3 separate regions of the Homo sapiens genome follow, and regions 1 and 3 are each linked to region 2. Evidence: promoter capture Hi-C in 16 types of primary human blood cells and fetal thymus (Javierre and others, 2016). All regions are on one chromosome and are shown on one strand. Each heading gives the region's core, a stretch centred on a gene start or on the middle of the fragment in contact. The rest is flanking DNA. Distances are from core to core; before and after follow the strand shown. Region 1 overlaps ABHD18 (abhydrolase domain containing 18). Region 2 holds the start of HSPA4L (heat shock protein family A (Hsp70) member 4 like). Region 3 has its middle 6.9 kb from the start of INTU.

Evidence for each region. The method cuts DNA at HindIII sites, captures the fragments that hold promoters and counts their contacts. A CHiCAGO score of 5 or more calls a contact.
Region 1: a fragment that was not itself captured here is called in contact with the fragment with the promoter of HSPA4L in region 2 in 1 of 17 cell types (erythroblasts); the score reaches 5.0 in erythroblasts.
Region 3: a fragment that was not itself captured here is called in contact with the fragment with the promoter of HSPA4L in region 2 in 1 of 17 cell types (erythroblasts); the score reaches 6.3 in erythroblasts.

What each region holds. Positions count from the first base shown.
Region 1 is chr4:127,972,161-127,976,682 of GRCh38, reverse strand. The region is part of intron 1 of ABHD18 (abhydrolase domain containing 18); the gene reads right to left. Among named protein-coding and RNA genes, the nearest start is that of ABHD18, 9.0 kb to the right of the region's middle. The HindIII fragment of the contact is 1,504 bases long and covers 1,054-2,557 here.
Region 2 is chr4:127,780,532-127,785,032 of GRCh38, reverse strand. It overlaps HSPA4L (heat shock protein family A (Hsp70) member 4 like), which reads right to left and starts at 2,711. Exons shown (of 19, transcript NM_014278.4): 1 at 2,376-2,711. The coding sequence starts at 2,482. RefSeq lists enhancers at 310-549, 1,961-2,040, 1,649-2,641, 2,541-2,690 and silencers at 2,831-2,900, 3,181-3,350. The HindIII fragment of the contact is 4,318 bases long and covers 2,185-4,501 here.
Region 3 is chr4:127,623,802-127,628,352 of GRCh38, reverse strand. No RefSeq gene overlaps it. Among named protein-coding and RNA genes, the nearest start is that of INTU, 6.9 kb to the left of the region's middle. The HindIII fragment of the contact is 3,167 bases long and covers 461-3,627 here.

The DNA of each region.
Region 1 (4,522 bases), core at 556-3,055, 190 kb before region 2:
AACAATAAATAGATGATATAAACATAAAATTTTAGTTTCCATTTTAATATGTTTCCAAATAGTATCTGAAAAGAATGCTATAAAAAGACTAGAGGAGAGACCCTGCAAAGTTTTTCCACAAAAGGCTGAACAGTATATATGATAGGCCTTGTAGGACAAGAGGCAAAATTAAGGATATTATGTAGGTATTTCAGATAACATTTTTTTCATTTTTTTCATTTCAGAGTCACATTTTTTGCATTGAGGAAATTCAAAATGTCATAAAAATAACTGAGTATAATTTTTTGTAATGTATAATTAATGAGAAGAATAAACTTTTTTTTTCTTGGGCGTTTGCTTAATTGAGATTCAAAGTTAGTACCCCATAATGAAATTGGGTACAAATGTTCACCTGTAAAATCTATTCTTAACTTGAAAGACATAGAAAAACAGGCAGGTTGAACAATAGGCCATAGCTTCCTGACCCCTGGGTTAGAAAATCAAATAAATCATAGGTATGACACAAATATAACACTAATGTTATAAATGTAAAGATACAACTATAAATCACTAGATTAAAATTACAGGCCAGACGTGGTGGTTCATGCCTGTAATCCCAACACTTTAGGAGGCTGAGGCAGGCGGATCACTTGAGTTCAAGACCAGCCTGGCTAACATGGCAAAACCCCATCTCTACTAAAAATACAAAAATTAGCTGGGTGTGGCAGCACATGTCTGTAATCCCAGATACTCAGGAAGCTGAGAAAGGAAAATCACTTGAACCTGGGAGGCGGAGGTTGCAGTGAGCCGAGACTGTACCACTGCACTCTAGCCTGGGTGACAGAGCAAGATTCCATCTCAAAATAAAATAAATAAAATAAAATAAAGTAAAATAAATAAGTAAATTATCCCAACCCTATAAAATGGGCATAAATATAATGCAAATATTGATTTAAAAAAATTCTATATGCCATAAAGTAGACCTAAAATTAATATTCTATCTAAAGTAAACACTAGTTATCTAATCAGCCATGATTTGTTTTCCTCCATAAAATTTAGAATTTGGCAGAAGCTTCTTCACTTCCTAGGTTATAAATAAATACATAAAAGGTGGGAGCTTTTAGTGTCCATTGGCAGATGAATGGATAAGCAAAGTATGTACATACAAACAACCACAAACACACACACAATAGGAATATATTCAGTCATACAAAGGAAGGAACTTCTGGCACATGATACAACATGGATGAACTCAGAGGACATTACGCTAAGTGAAATTAGTCAGCCACAAAAAGACAAATATTGTATGATTCAATTTAAACAAGATACCTAGAGTAGTCAGATTCATAGAAGCAGAAAGTAGAAGGATGGTTGCCCAGTACTGGGGGGATGGGAAAAGGGGGAGGCTACTGTTTAATGGGTATAGAGTTTCAGTTTTGCAAGAAGAAAACTGGAGATGGATGGTGGTGATACAGTTGCGCAACAATATAAATATACTTACCTTTGAACTATAGAGTTAAAATTATTAAGATGGTAAATTTTGTTACTGTATTTTACCACAAGAAAAAAAACTGAGAAAACAAAATAGAATTTGGGGTTGAGTCTCCAAATAAAATTTTGAGGGGAAGTAAATTGATGCTTTCTTTTCCTTTTGACAACTTTGTCAGTAAGCAGTAGTTCACTATTTTTTTTTTTTTTTTTTTTTTGAGACACAGTTTTTGCTCTTGTTGCCTAGGCTGGAGTGCAATGGCGCGATCTCGGCTCACTGCAACCTCCACCTCCTGGGTTCAAGCAATTCTCCTGGCTCAGCCTCCCAAGTAGCTGGGATTACAGGCGACAACCACCACACCCAGCTGATTTTTGTTATTTTTAGTAGAGACGGGGTTTCACCGTGTTGGCCAGGCTGGTCTCGAACTCCTGACCTCAGGTGATCCACCCTCTACCCTCCTCAGCCTCCCAAAGTGCTGGGATTACAAGTGTGAGCCACTGCGCCCAGCCAGAAGTAGTTCACTATTTATCTCAGAACAGAACTTGCCAGATGCCATGGCTCACACCTGTAATCCTGCACTTTGGGAGGCTGACACGGGTGGATAGCTTGAGCCCAGGAGTTCAAGACCAGCCTGGGCAACATGGTGAAATTCCATTTCTACAATAAATACAAAAAATTAGCCAGATGTGGTGGTGCATGGCTGTGGTTCCAGCTACTTAGGAGGCTGAGGTGGGAGGATTGCTTGAACTGAGTAGGCAGAGGCTACAGTGAGCCAAGATCATGGCTACTGCACTCCAGGCCAGGGTGACACAGTGAGACCTTATCACACACAAAAATAATACAGTTGGGTGCAGTGGTCCATAGTGGTGTGCGCCTGTAGTCCCAGCTACTCAAAAGGCTGAGGTAGGAGGATAGCTTGAGCCCAGGAGAGTGAGGTGGCAGTGAGCTATGATAGTGCTATTGCTCTCCAGCGTGGGCGACAGAGTAAGACTCTGTCTCAAAAAAAAAAAAAAAAAAAAAAAAAAACAGAACTTAAGGTTAATATTCTCTTCAAAAAAGACCATTGCATAATTTAAATAGTTGGAAGCTTTTAATAACTAAGACCTTTAAAGAATATAATTTGAAGAACAAATCTCTTGCATCTAGTTTGTTTCCTCCATCTTCTTCCCTTTTCCTTGAGGATTATCTTCCAAGAACCCAGCCTAGTTGGGTTTTCTGCTTCAGAACCTCATCTGGCTTCAATCAAGGTGTCAGCTGGGCTTCATTTTCATCTGTAGGCTTGAAGAGACAAGAACTCACTTCCACGCTTACTCAGGTTGAAGGCAGAATTCATTTTTTTTGTGTGTGGCTGTGGGACTATGAGCTTCAATTTTTTTTTTTTTTTTTTTTTTTTTTTTGCTGTTCATCAGCCAGAGGCCAGCCTCTGCTCCTGGAGGCTATCCACAGCCCCCTGTCACATGGCTCTCTTCATAGGAAGTTCACAACATGGCAGCTATTTCTTCAAGGCCAGCAGGAAAATAAGTGTGAGCCACAGGAGCCATACCTTTGCCATATAACATAATGTCGTCATGGGAATAACAGCCAATCACCTTTGCCATATGCCTGGTTAGAAAGCAAATCATGGGTTCTGCCCAAACTCAAGGAAGGGGATCACACAAAAATATGAACATCAGAATTTGAGGATCTTGAGGGCCACCTTAGAAACTGTCTGCTACACTGAGAGAAACCAATTATACTTCTCAGCATTTGAGTAGAGTATCTGGGCTGACACCCTCAATAACAGGTGTTACTTACTTTCTTCACATTTTCCTACCAGTAAGGGGGAAAAAAAAACCCCCAAACTCCACAGACTTGAATAAACATTTGTTTATAAGCAAATTTTGAAAGTTTGTCTAAATCAGCAAGGCGTGGTGGCTTACATCTGTAATCCCAGTAGTTTGTGATGCTGAGGTGAGAGGACCGCTTGAGTCCAGCAGTTCAAAACCAGCCTGGGTAACATGGGGAAACTCTGCCTCTATGAAAAATACAAAACTTTCCCGGGAGTGGTGGTGTGTGCCTGTGTAGTCCCACCTACTCGGGAGGCTGAGGCGGGAGGATTGCTTGAGCCTAGGAGGCAGAGGATGCAGTGAGCCAGGATCACACCACCGCACTCCAGCCTGGGTGACAGAGTGAGACCCGGTCTAAGAAAAGAAAAGAAAGGAAACGAGTGGGGAGGGTAGGGGAGAGAAAAGATTGTCTAAATCATGTTTATATATTTTCATTCACTTAACACCTTTGTCAGAAACAACAACAAAAAAACCAAAACAAAGTAAAAACACTTGCCTCTTAGAATTTTTTTAATCATGAAACAAATGGTAAAAGGCAAACTAACTTCTGAAATGCGTCTTAATTATATATTTTCTACTTTAGTGCAATTACAATCATGTAAGTATATGTAGTATATAAATTGCTTGACTAGTGTTTTTCTTGTAGAGGGCATGTCACTCTGGAATAATAAAGAGTATATCTGGGCCAGGCACGGTGGCTCACGCCTGTAATCCCAGCACTTTGAGAAGCCAAGGCAGGTGGATCACTTGAAGTCAGGAGTTCAAAACCAGCCCGGCCAACATGGTGAAACCCTGTCTCTACTAAAAATACACAAAAATTAGCCAGAGCGAGACTCTGTCTCAAAAAAAAAAAAAAAAAAAAAAAAAAGAGTATATCTGGTCTTTGACCTCAGCTCCTGGCATGAAGTTTCTAAAACCCCTGGTATTTCTTAAGTGATGAGTGTCTGTTATGCTAAACAAGCAACTCCCTGTGGGCCCCCTGAAAGTTTCAGAATCAGGGCTGGCCACCAGAAAGGAACTTTGGGACCCTCTGACCTCCACAGAGGGGAAGGGAGCTGGAAAGTGAGTTCAATCACATGGCCAAAGATTCAATCAATCATGCCTATTAATGAAACTCCAGTAAAAATTATGGACACTAAACCTTGGTGGAGCTTTCTAGTTGATGAACACCTTGGTGCGTCAGGAAGGAGATGCTCCCTGAGTCCATAGGAAGAGGCCAGGTAGTTCC
Region 2 (4,501 bases), core at 1,462-3,961:
AATGAAAGAAACGTAAAATGTATGAATGCTGAAAACAACTAAATTGAACATTTCTTTCCTCTTTTCATAGGATCATTTTATAATGTATTCACATCTTAGAAAATATGTCACATTACCTTGATGTAAGCAATTGGAATATGAAAAACATTTTATTTGCAAAGCTAACATTTTATTTATGTGTGTTATTAAATACTGTGGTGTATTAGAGAAGTTAAAGGTTATCTAATAGTTACAATGCTTTTTGCATGATCGGTGTTGAATTGATGGATAAATGTCCTGAGGCCCGGAAGGGCTATGTTTTTCCTCAACAATTGGACCCACAAAGTAATACATAGTGTAAGAGCACTACACTACCATGAAGTACTTTTGTTCAGAAACAACAAAAGATACACTTCTGAGGTAAGTGACAGTGCCCAGCCATGGAGAGAAGAGTTGCTGATGCAAGCTAAGTGAGAATATCCTTTCACTTTTTAAGAACTTTCTAGTTTAGATTAGGCTCATTAAATCTAGATATTACTATTGGCTTTCTAGCACACAAATCAGAAATATCACATTACTTCTCAACCACACAGAACCAGCGAATATGCCTAAGTACAATAACAAAGAGACTTTTAGAAGACTCTAGAAGCCCACTTTTTAAAGAACTAAGTCTGGCCGGCCAGGATCTTTAAAGAATCACAGGTTCACTCACTGCTAAAGAGATTTCTCAGCCTGGAAATGCAGATCGATCTTTCTTACTGTTCTGGTTTCTGATCTTTTAGGATATGGCTTTAAGGACTAAAAGAATGTCCACCCTACCTCTCAGTTTTTTCTCTATAGGTTGAGAGTCAATGAAGCCAAAGATTGCTCCCATTTTTAACCCCTACTCTGCTGAAGGTGGAGAGTGGAATTTCCGGTCTGTTTCTGGCGAAAGCCAGTATTTGTTGTGGCTTAATATAAAACCTTGTAGAGACGAATTCATCGACTTCACAGTTACTGTTTCGGCCTCTCACTGTGCATAAAAGCCAGAAAAAGATGTAAAAAGTAGAAGAGTTCAAACATTATTGAGGATTACCTTATCTATGCCCATGTATTGAAAATATAAACGTCCAAAACGTTTAAAATTTCAATAGAAGAAACGTGTACATCTACGAAAAAAGGTATAAAACCTTCTAGAATCTTCTTGGAAAGAAATCAAAGCACAGACTGCTTCAAGTGAGCTACTCTTCAACATCTTTTTGCCATATTTTAAAGCTTTCCATAGAATAGTAAATGAGGCATTTAAAGACCATTGGACACTGACCTTGTTTTAGTATAGTTAAGGTATTATATTTTGGACCATTCAGAACGGTCAAATTAAGATGCCAAATTACCTTTCCATAAAAAGTAATATAGGTTTCATACAGTTGGTTTCCTCATAAAATTACCAGTAACAGCAGCCTATAAGCAGCAACTAGTTTTTCATATTTCAGAATTACTTCATTATATTCCTTGCCAACAAACTTCCCAGGCCAGAGAAACAACGGAACATGTGGAAACATGTTTCCATGACATAACGCCGCTCCTCCTAAGCCTTTCATTAAGCGTTCATAATAGAATCACTCCACAGTCATGTTTATACGGGACAGCTGCCCCCGACTCCGGCAATTCACTCTGCAGAAACACGCTTTTGGTCCGACCCAACCCCGCCGCATTCCAGCAACTGACGTAGTTACCAATGCACAAGGCCAGTGACTCCCATCCCGAGGCTCTCCCTATCAATGCACCATTGACCTGGCCCTGTAAACCGGCTCCATTACCTGCAGTTCTCAAGGGCACTGGGTTTTGTAAAACCCCACATGCCTCACTCCCCGCCCTTAAAAAAAAAAAAAAGGCTTTCGGGGCCAGATGAACCTGCAATTCATCTCTGACGTGTGCAGCCGAAGCTGACTTTTTACTTTTCTGAGAAAAAGCTGTCACCCAGAGGGACGGGGAAAGGAAGGAGGGCAGCTGGCGCGGGGCCGATAATCCCACGTAAACCTCGTTAGAGGCAACCGGAGATCTTTCTCAATATTCCGGACGCCAGGGGCTGTCCCACAGCAACCTCTTCCTCGCAAGCAAAAGAGGCGTTGGGGGACAGCGGCACGAGGCAGGGGACGTGCGTAGGTACAGAAAAGAGAGCTGCGCAAACTAGTGCGGTCCCTCGTCCTTGAAGGAAAAGAAGCTTTGCGGGGCGAGGAAGTCCGACTGCCACCCGGCGGTCTCTAGGGACTGCGGTTGACGGGTTGCACCTGTCATCTCGGGGTTCGGCGCACGTTAGGGGAAAATCCGAGGAAGCGAGCAGACAGGACAAACGTTAAGGACGGGAGAGAAAAACGTTTCTTAGGGTCGAGGTGATGCTCAGCAGAGGCACTTACGGGGTACACCTGTCGCTGTACTCATTGGCGATGGTCTCGATGCCGCCACTTCTCGCGACAGCAATGTAGCAGTTGAGAAAGCCGAGGTCAATGCCAACCACAGACATCCCGCCGCGTGATGGTCGGGCTGCTGGTACTGAACCCTTCGGTACGGGAACCGTGTCCTCTTCTGGGCTATTGCTGCTGGGATTGCGACTCCTACCAGAAGCAAACGAGAGGGGACCCCAAGTCGCTAAGCAGAAAATCTAGGGCAGGGAGTCGGAAACCCGCGGAAGGAGCAGAGGCCGTCAGCGCCGCAGCCTGCACCGCGTCCCGCAGCCTGGGTCTTTCCCTACTGCGGTTCGGCCGCCTCCAACCGGCGGTTACTGGGACCTGCGCCTGCGCGCTCGGCTGCCCGGGAGGCGCGCGAGCCTCCGCTCCGCGCCCGAGCCAGCTCCGGGCCCGGACTTCGGCCGCTTCCGTCAGCACTCGGGCAACGGCTGCCCAAGAAGCTGCGGGTTCGAGAAAGATCTGGAAAATGGAGGCTGCTGAGCTATCCGGGGGCGGGAGAAGCGGGAAGGCGGGGCGGGGAGGATCGGGGAAAGGAGGCTAGGCACATTGGCTTGCTCGCCCTCGCTCGGCAGTAGGACGTCGGGCGGTCGGGCTAGGTGAGAGGCAGGCGACCGGCCGGCCCGGGGCTTTGCGAACGTGTTTTGAGGCACATTTTTGGGTTGTTTTGGCAACCGGAGGCGTGCTTGTCACGGCGGCAGGATGCTGTCCTGGCTGGCGGGCGCCGCCCCCTCACCCCCTGCCCTCAGAAGGGCTCGCCCGCAGGCCTCGCCTCCCCGAGGGGCCCATGTGCAGCCCGGCGCCCTCCCCTTGTGGCTGGAGGCCCGCCGCGCCCGGCTCTGTGAGGTGGCGCGCATTGTCCGACGTCCGCCGCTCCGCCCTGTCCAGCCCCGGGGGAGCTGCCGAGCCCGGGACAGACTCTTGTGCGAAAGCGGGATGAGCACATGTTAGGTTTTTTTCTTTTTTCATCAGCAGGATTTGAAATATCAAAAGTCAAACTTCTGTCAAGAAATAAGATCACACTGACAACTTTCCCTCCACGTACCTTTCCTCACACCTTTCTAAAAGATGCTGGCCCCGCCGCTGACCCTTGTCTCTGGAAACCAGTTTTACAGGAAAGTGACCTTAATTAAGTGTGCCACTCACACCAGCCAAGTCTGTGCTTTAGCCTCCAGCCGCTGCCCTGTGGTCCTCAAAAAAGAGCCCAGTGTGGTCCAGCGCCCTCCCTCTTGGTTTGATCGGCATGTGTTGCCTGTCTGTAATTAACCAAGTTTTATGTTACACTTAAGAAATTTGGCTGTCTTGTTGCTTTTCGTTCACTTTTACGTGTGTGCCCTGTTCCTTCTCTGCCAGTCCTTGGTCTGTTCCCTGTTCCTCCCCGTCCTCTTCATCTAGTCTCTGTTCCTTCTCATCCAATTCTTTGTGTGTTTTCCTGTTCCATTTTGGTATCCATCTTGAAAACAGGCGTGTTTTTTTGTTTGTTTGTTTTGTTTACTAGATTCTTTAGTATTCTGATTATCCCTAGTTGTCCACTTCTTTAAATAACTTAGATTTTTTACTATTAATAATGTTGCTACAGCAGCAGCAGCAGCAAGGGTGGCTATAGTTCCTGCTGCTGTTAGAATGAACGTGAAATCCATTTTCAAGGGCAATACTGAGGCAACTGGATTGTACAGTATTGCTTGGGCTCTGGTCTCTACATTGAAGAAATCAATCAGGCCTCTCTTCCCTTCATGAGCACTCAGGAGACGTGGAGCCCCTGGGTGAAGCTGCGCTCTGAGACACCGCAGAACTCGGCGTCCCAGCGGGCAGCTCGTGAGCAGAACAGGGATTGGGCGTTGCCCTGCGACTGAACCCTGGGCCCTGGTCCTGCTGGGCGCCTGTGACTTCCACCAGTTCTCCTCACACACCTCTTCTGACATCGGCCATCACTATCTAGATTTATTCCAGAATATCCTGAAATTCTCCTAGTACAATTAATTTATCTTAATTCCATTAGTTTATCCATGTTGTCTATACAACTTGAGGGTGTAAGAATGTTTTTTTTTTTTCCTATTAAAAATACCACTTAAAATATC
Region 3 (4,551 bases), core at 795-3,294, 160 kb after region 2:
TTTTTCTACTCTTTCCTCATAATCTATCCCATAAAATTAGGTTATAACTAATATCAGTCTGTCTTATATCTAAATTAAATAGGAATACATCTATCATTGCCACCAAATGACAATCTCCTGGAGAACCTGACTGGGTCTTTTTTTTTTTTTTCTCTTCAGTCTTTCACTTGTCACAAGGTTGAACTGGAGCAAAAAATGCCACATGAAAGTATACCTGCTAGGACGTTAGCTATATTCCTGAGTTACGTTAACTCCCTTGGCTAATTTACTTCCATGTGTTAGTTAAATGGATAAAAGTGAGCAACAACAAAATTTACCACCTCGCTTTATCTTTCATCAAAGAAGAAATAATAGCAATCATTTTTATCCTTATTTTAATTTTCAGGTTGTAGTATCAATTAGTCATATTTCTAAATTTACATATCATATTTCTACTAACCTTGCTAATATTTAATAAGCTTAGATATTTTTGAAAGGATGAAGAAAGGAAAGGAATAGGATGCCATTTTCAGGGCCTTTATAAGAATATTCTGTGTGTTTCATAATTAGCAATTGCAAGAAGATTTAAGAGATTTAGACTGGGGTATATTTTCATTTTCTCTTTTCCACTACAAAATGACCAGCCATCTTCTGAAGCCCAAATATGTTTAATTTAATGCATATGAGACTTGACATCCTTATTTCCATAGATTACCATCTTGATTAGGCGAACTACAATTCTGACATAAAATACACCAGAAAAGGACATAATTAAATATTTAGTATCGTTAGCAGGTTCAGGAGCTCTTTCTCTAGTAGTAATAGAAGCTGGCAATGAGAAGTAAATGAAAATAGGGCCACATGAGGTCATATTCATTAAAAATTTAAACTACAAGGTAAAAATTATGTAAGAGTTTTGTTAGAAACTAATATTGCCTTAATTGTGAACACAGAAATAATAATACTTTATGAACTATGTGGTAATAATGACAGCCATAATTATTTTTAAAATATGAATAAATAACTTGGTAGACCAACAAAATAGCATTTTAGAAAGTGAGACTTTATTATGTAGAAGATTTCAGATTTCAGAGTTTATATATCAAAATAACATTTCAGCAATCCTAAAGGTACAGAATTGCATTATGGTCTAAAATTCTCATTTCCCTCTATAAAAGTTGAATTACTTGTTAAAATGCATACAACTTACCTGCAATAAGACCATATATTCCACATTTGAATAGTAATGGAATACAGATGAGAATCCAGAAGCACAAGTGAGACTAAAATAGATGGCACAAAGCTCAAGCCCAAAACCCAATTCATTTACTCCTATTTCTTTTCATTTTAGATCTTCATTTACAAATTATAACAAGTTTGGCAAGCTGTTCTACCACTATAGATCAATAGCTGCCAATCAGAAGGAAAGAAGGCTCCCTTAAAACAGGAATACAACAACCCTGGAAATTGTTGATGGCTGACAATCTGCTGATGAAGAGGAAAGTAGAAAACAAAAGGCAGACATGAGAATTAACAAAAAACCATAGTTTATAAATAACTGCCAAATGACCTAAGTAGCACCTAAAACAAAAAAATTCACAGCATTGTTGAATCCTACAATAATTTGACATCGACTGTAAAAAACACTTGATAATCTGTAAGTGCCATGCATTCTCCAGTCAGGGGATCCAAGTTCTCATCCTGATTTTGGCACCAATAACCAAGTGGAAGTGGACAAAGTCAGTTTCCTCATCTGAAGGCAGCAATAATAATCTCTGCCTACTCTATAGGGTTGCTGAAAATCAAATGAGATAACCCTTGAAATCTAATGCCTTATACCTTAAGAAACAGAGCAGTGTGTACTTTATATTATATTTTCAAAAGCTGTTTTTTTTAATTATTCATTTTAGTTTTTATTTTTAGATCTTAAAAAGATATTACATACTCTTTTACTAACAGGAATATTACTTAATTGGGCATACCCCCTGAGAATTCTGGATAGTTGCGGTATTTTGAATTTGCATATTTTCACCTTTGGTAAGAGTATGAAATTTGGGTCGTCAAAAATTTTGAGAATCACCTCTAGTTCACTCTCTCCATTGGCTTAGGGGTCAAAAAACCAGCACTCCAGCCTGGACCAGCACCATTCATTAGCTATTAGGCCTTGGGCAAAGTCACCAGGCTGAATCTTCTCAGAATCTTTAGGAACTATCATTTTGTGTTTTGTTTTAGTTTTTTACTATAGAACAGTTGTTACCATAATCCCTTATATTTGACAGAACTTTAGTTTTATAAAGCACTTCCATATCATCAGAAATTCACACCAACACCTTGTGAGGTGGGTATTATCCCTTTATATTACAGAAAGAACAGGGGAAAATATAAATAAGTTAAAAGTCTTGCCAAGTCACACAACTACTGTGCAACAGAGGAATTAGGACTCCAAGGAAATGATTAATTTGCAATAGTATTGTGCATATGTTTTTTTAAAAAAATTTGCAAAATACTGAGTATTAATAGTATTGTTTGGTTATTTCTTATAATCAAGATGACAGAAAAATAACTTAAGTAACTGAGAAATACAATACTGATGCTTTTCCTTGACTCAGACAACTTATGTGTAACTTTTTTCAAAAAGCAGAATAGTTAAATTTATTTTGCTGAGCTATTGTTATTTTACAATTGACATTTTGAAGTTAGCACCTCATGCAGAGAAAAGTTTGCAGCTTTGCTTTAATTTTGGTTTGGCTGAAGTATCTTTTTCAAAAGCACAGCAATTTAATGCTTTACATTTTAAAAACCATATTTGCAATGGAAAATATACAAGTAATTTAAAAAAGGACACACTCACAAGACTTACCCTTTAAAGTAACACGTTAAAATAAAACAGTCTGTTATTTTCTCTTAATAACATGGCTACTAGTCTCTTTAATGCAATTGCCAAAATTTTGTATATAATTTACGATGGATGTTTTAAAGGAAAAACATAAAAGTTTTGTAACAGTAATACTTTTAAAATAGGCCATGCATTGATATACTTCATGAGAACTATGATAAGTACAAGTATGATTTAAGGGTTATCAAATCTCCCTAATTTCTATAATATTATGCCTAAACAAATCTGTATATATACAAGCAAAAGACATTTGATTAGATGTGAACTTGTGTGAAACACAGATGCATTAAATGAAAGAGAAACCTCTACAGATGTCTAAGTTTTTTAAGTGCGTGTTTGAAAACATTAAATAATAAATAACCACTAATAAGAGTAATGCATTGCAGTAGCAAAAAGATTTTCGTATAATGTTAAAAAGAAAGCACTGTTAGCCATGATACTGACAAACATATTTATAGTTCCAGATTCCATTGGTTCCTCCAGCATATGGGAGCAGTTATTTGTAATTCAGATAAAGTAGTTTTTCATTGTAATACTGAGCAGGTTATTCTAAAAATATTCCACTACTTCCGAAATAATCATCTCAGTCTTGATGACTATAGCTTAAACATATTCTTTTGCCTGGTTTATTCGGACAGGTTTGTGCCTTGGATCTGAAACCCTAAAGTGTTCATCAGTTTGAAATTTTTTGGCACTTGACATTTAAAACATGAGAAATATAAAGAAATTCTGTTGCAGCAAGGTCTTAAGCTTTTAAAATTAGCACCCCTCCCGGCTTTACAACAAAGTCATGCTGTGAATGAGTTTTTAGTTAATGCTTCTTGGGATTTATTCCTGGACTATAATTTTATCAAATGCAGGGGGAATTTTCTTTGGGAATTTAGCAGAATATCCTTTTCACAGCTCGTTTAATAATATTTTCTTTTATATGGCAGGGGCTCTTTGGGGGTTGGGGGAAACCAACTGCAGAAAATTGCAGGTTTCAGAAGACAGCTCTGAAATCGCAGACACCCAATTTCTCCCTTGCACACTTTCTTTTTTACTCACACTTCCAATAGAACAGGATTTCTACAGCTCATATGGTTTTGTACAAAGACTTAAAAGGGCCACTTGAAACGTTTACAGATGAGAGGGCTCACATAAACCTCCCCCTGACAGATATTTACGAAGCGCCACTTACTCTTTCTCGCCACAAACGTATTCAAGAGACACTTTAGATATATTTCTAAGAGTTCTTTTTCCCTACAACGTCTTATGAAGGCCAGGCCTTCCTAGAACTAAAGCAGCATTAACTGCTTGGTATTTCATCCATCCTCTCTTAAAATTGAAAGACAATTTGCTCTTCATGTGGACTATTTCTTTCTCTTCTATAAACCCATCACTGTAACCACAGGATTTAATATTTGTTAGTCTATTTTGCATAAAGGATAAGGTTGGACGAAAGTACCAGCAGTGAAAATTAATGCACTAGCAGCTTACAGAAAGTTAGGGTTCTCATTCTTCCTAGAGAAACTCTTAAATTTCTTTTGTGCAGTTTTTGGTGTGTGGGCGCAAGCGCATGCGCGCGCGTGTTGGGGGGGTGGGGTAGAATTAGATTTGTTAGAAAAGAAGCTCTTTTCCATTCCAGTCACAACTAAAGTTCAAACAAAACTCTTAGCTTGCTGGAAGAAGCCTGG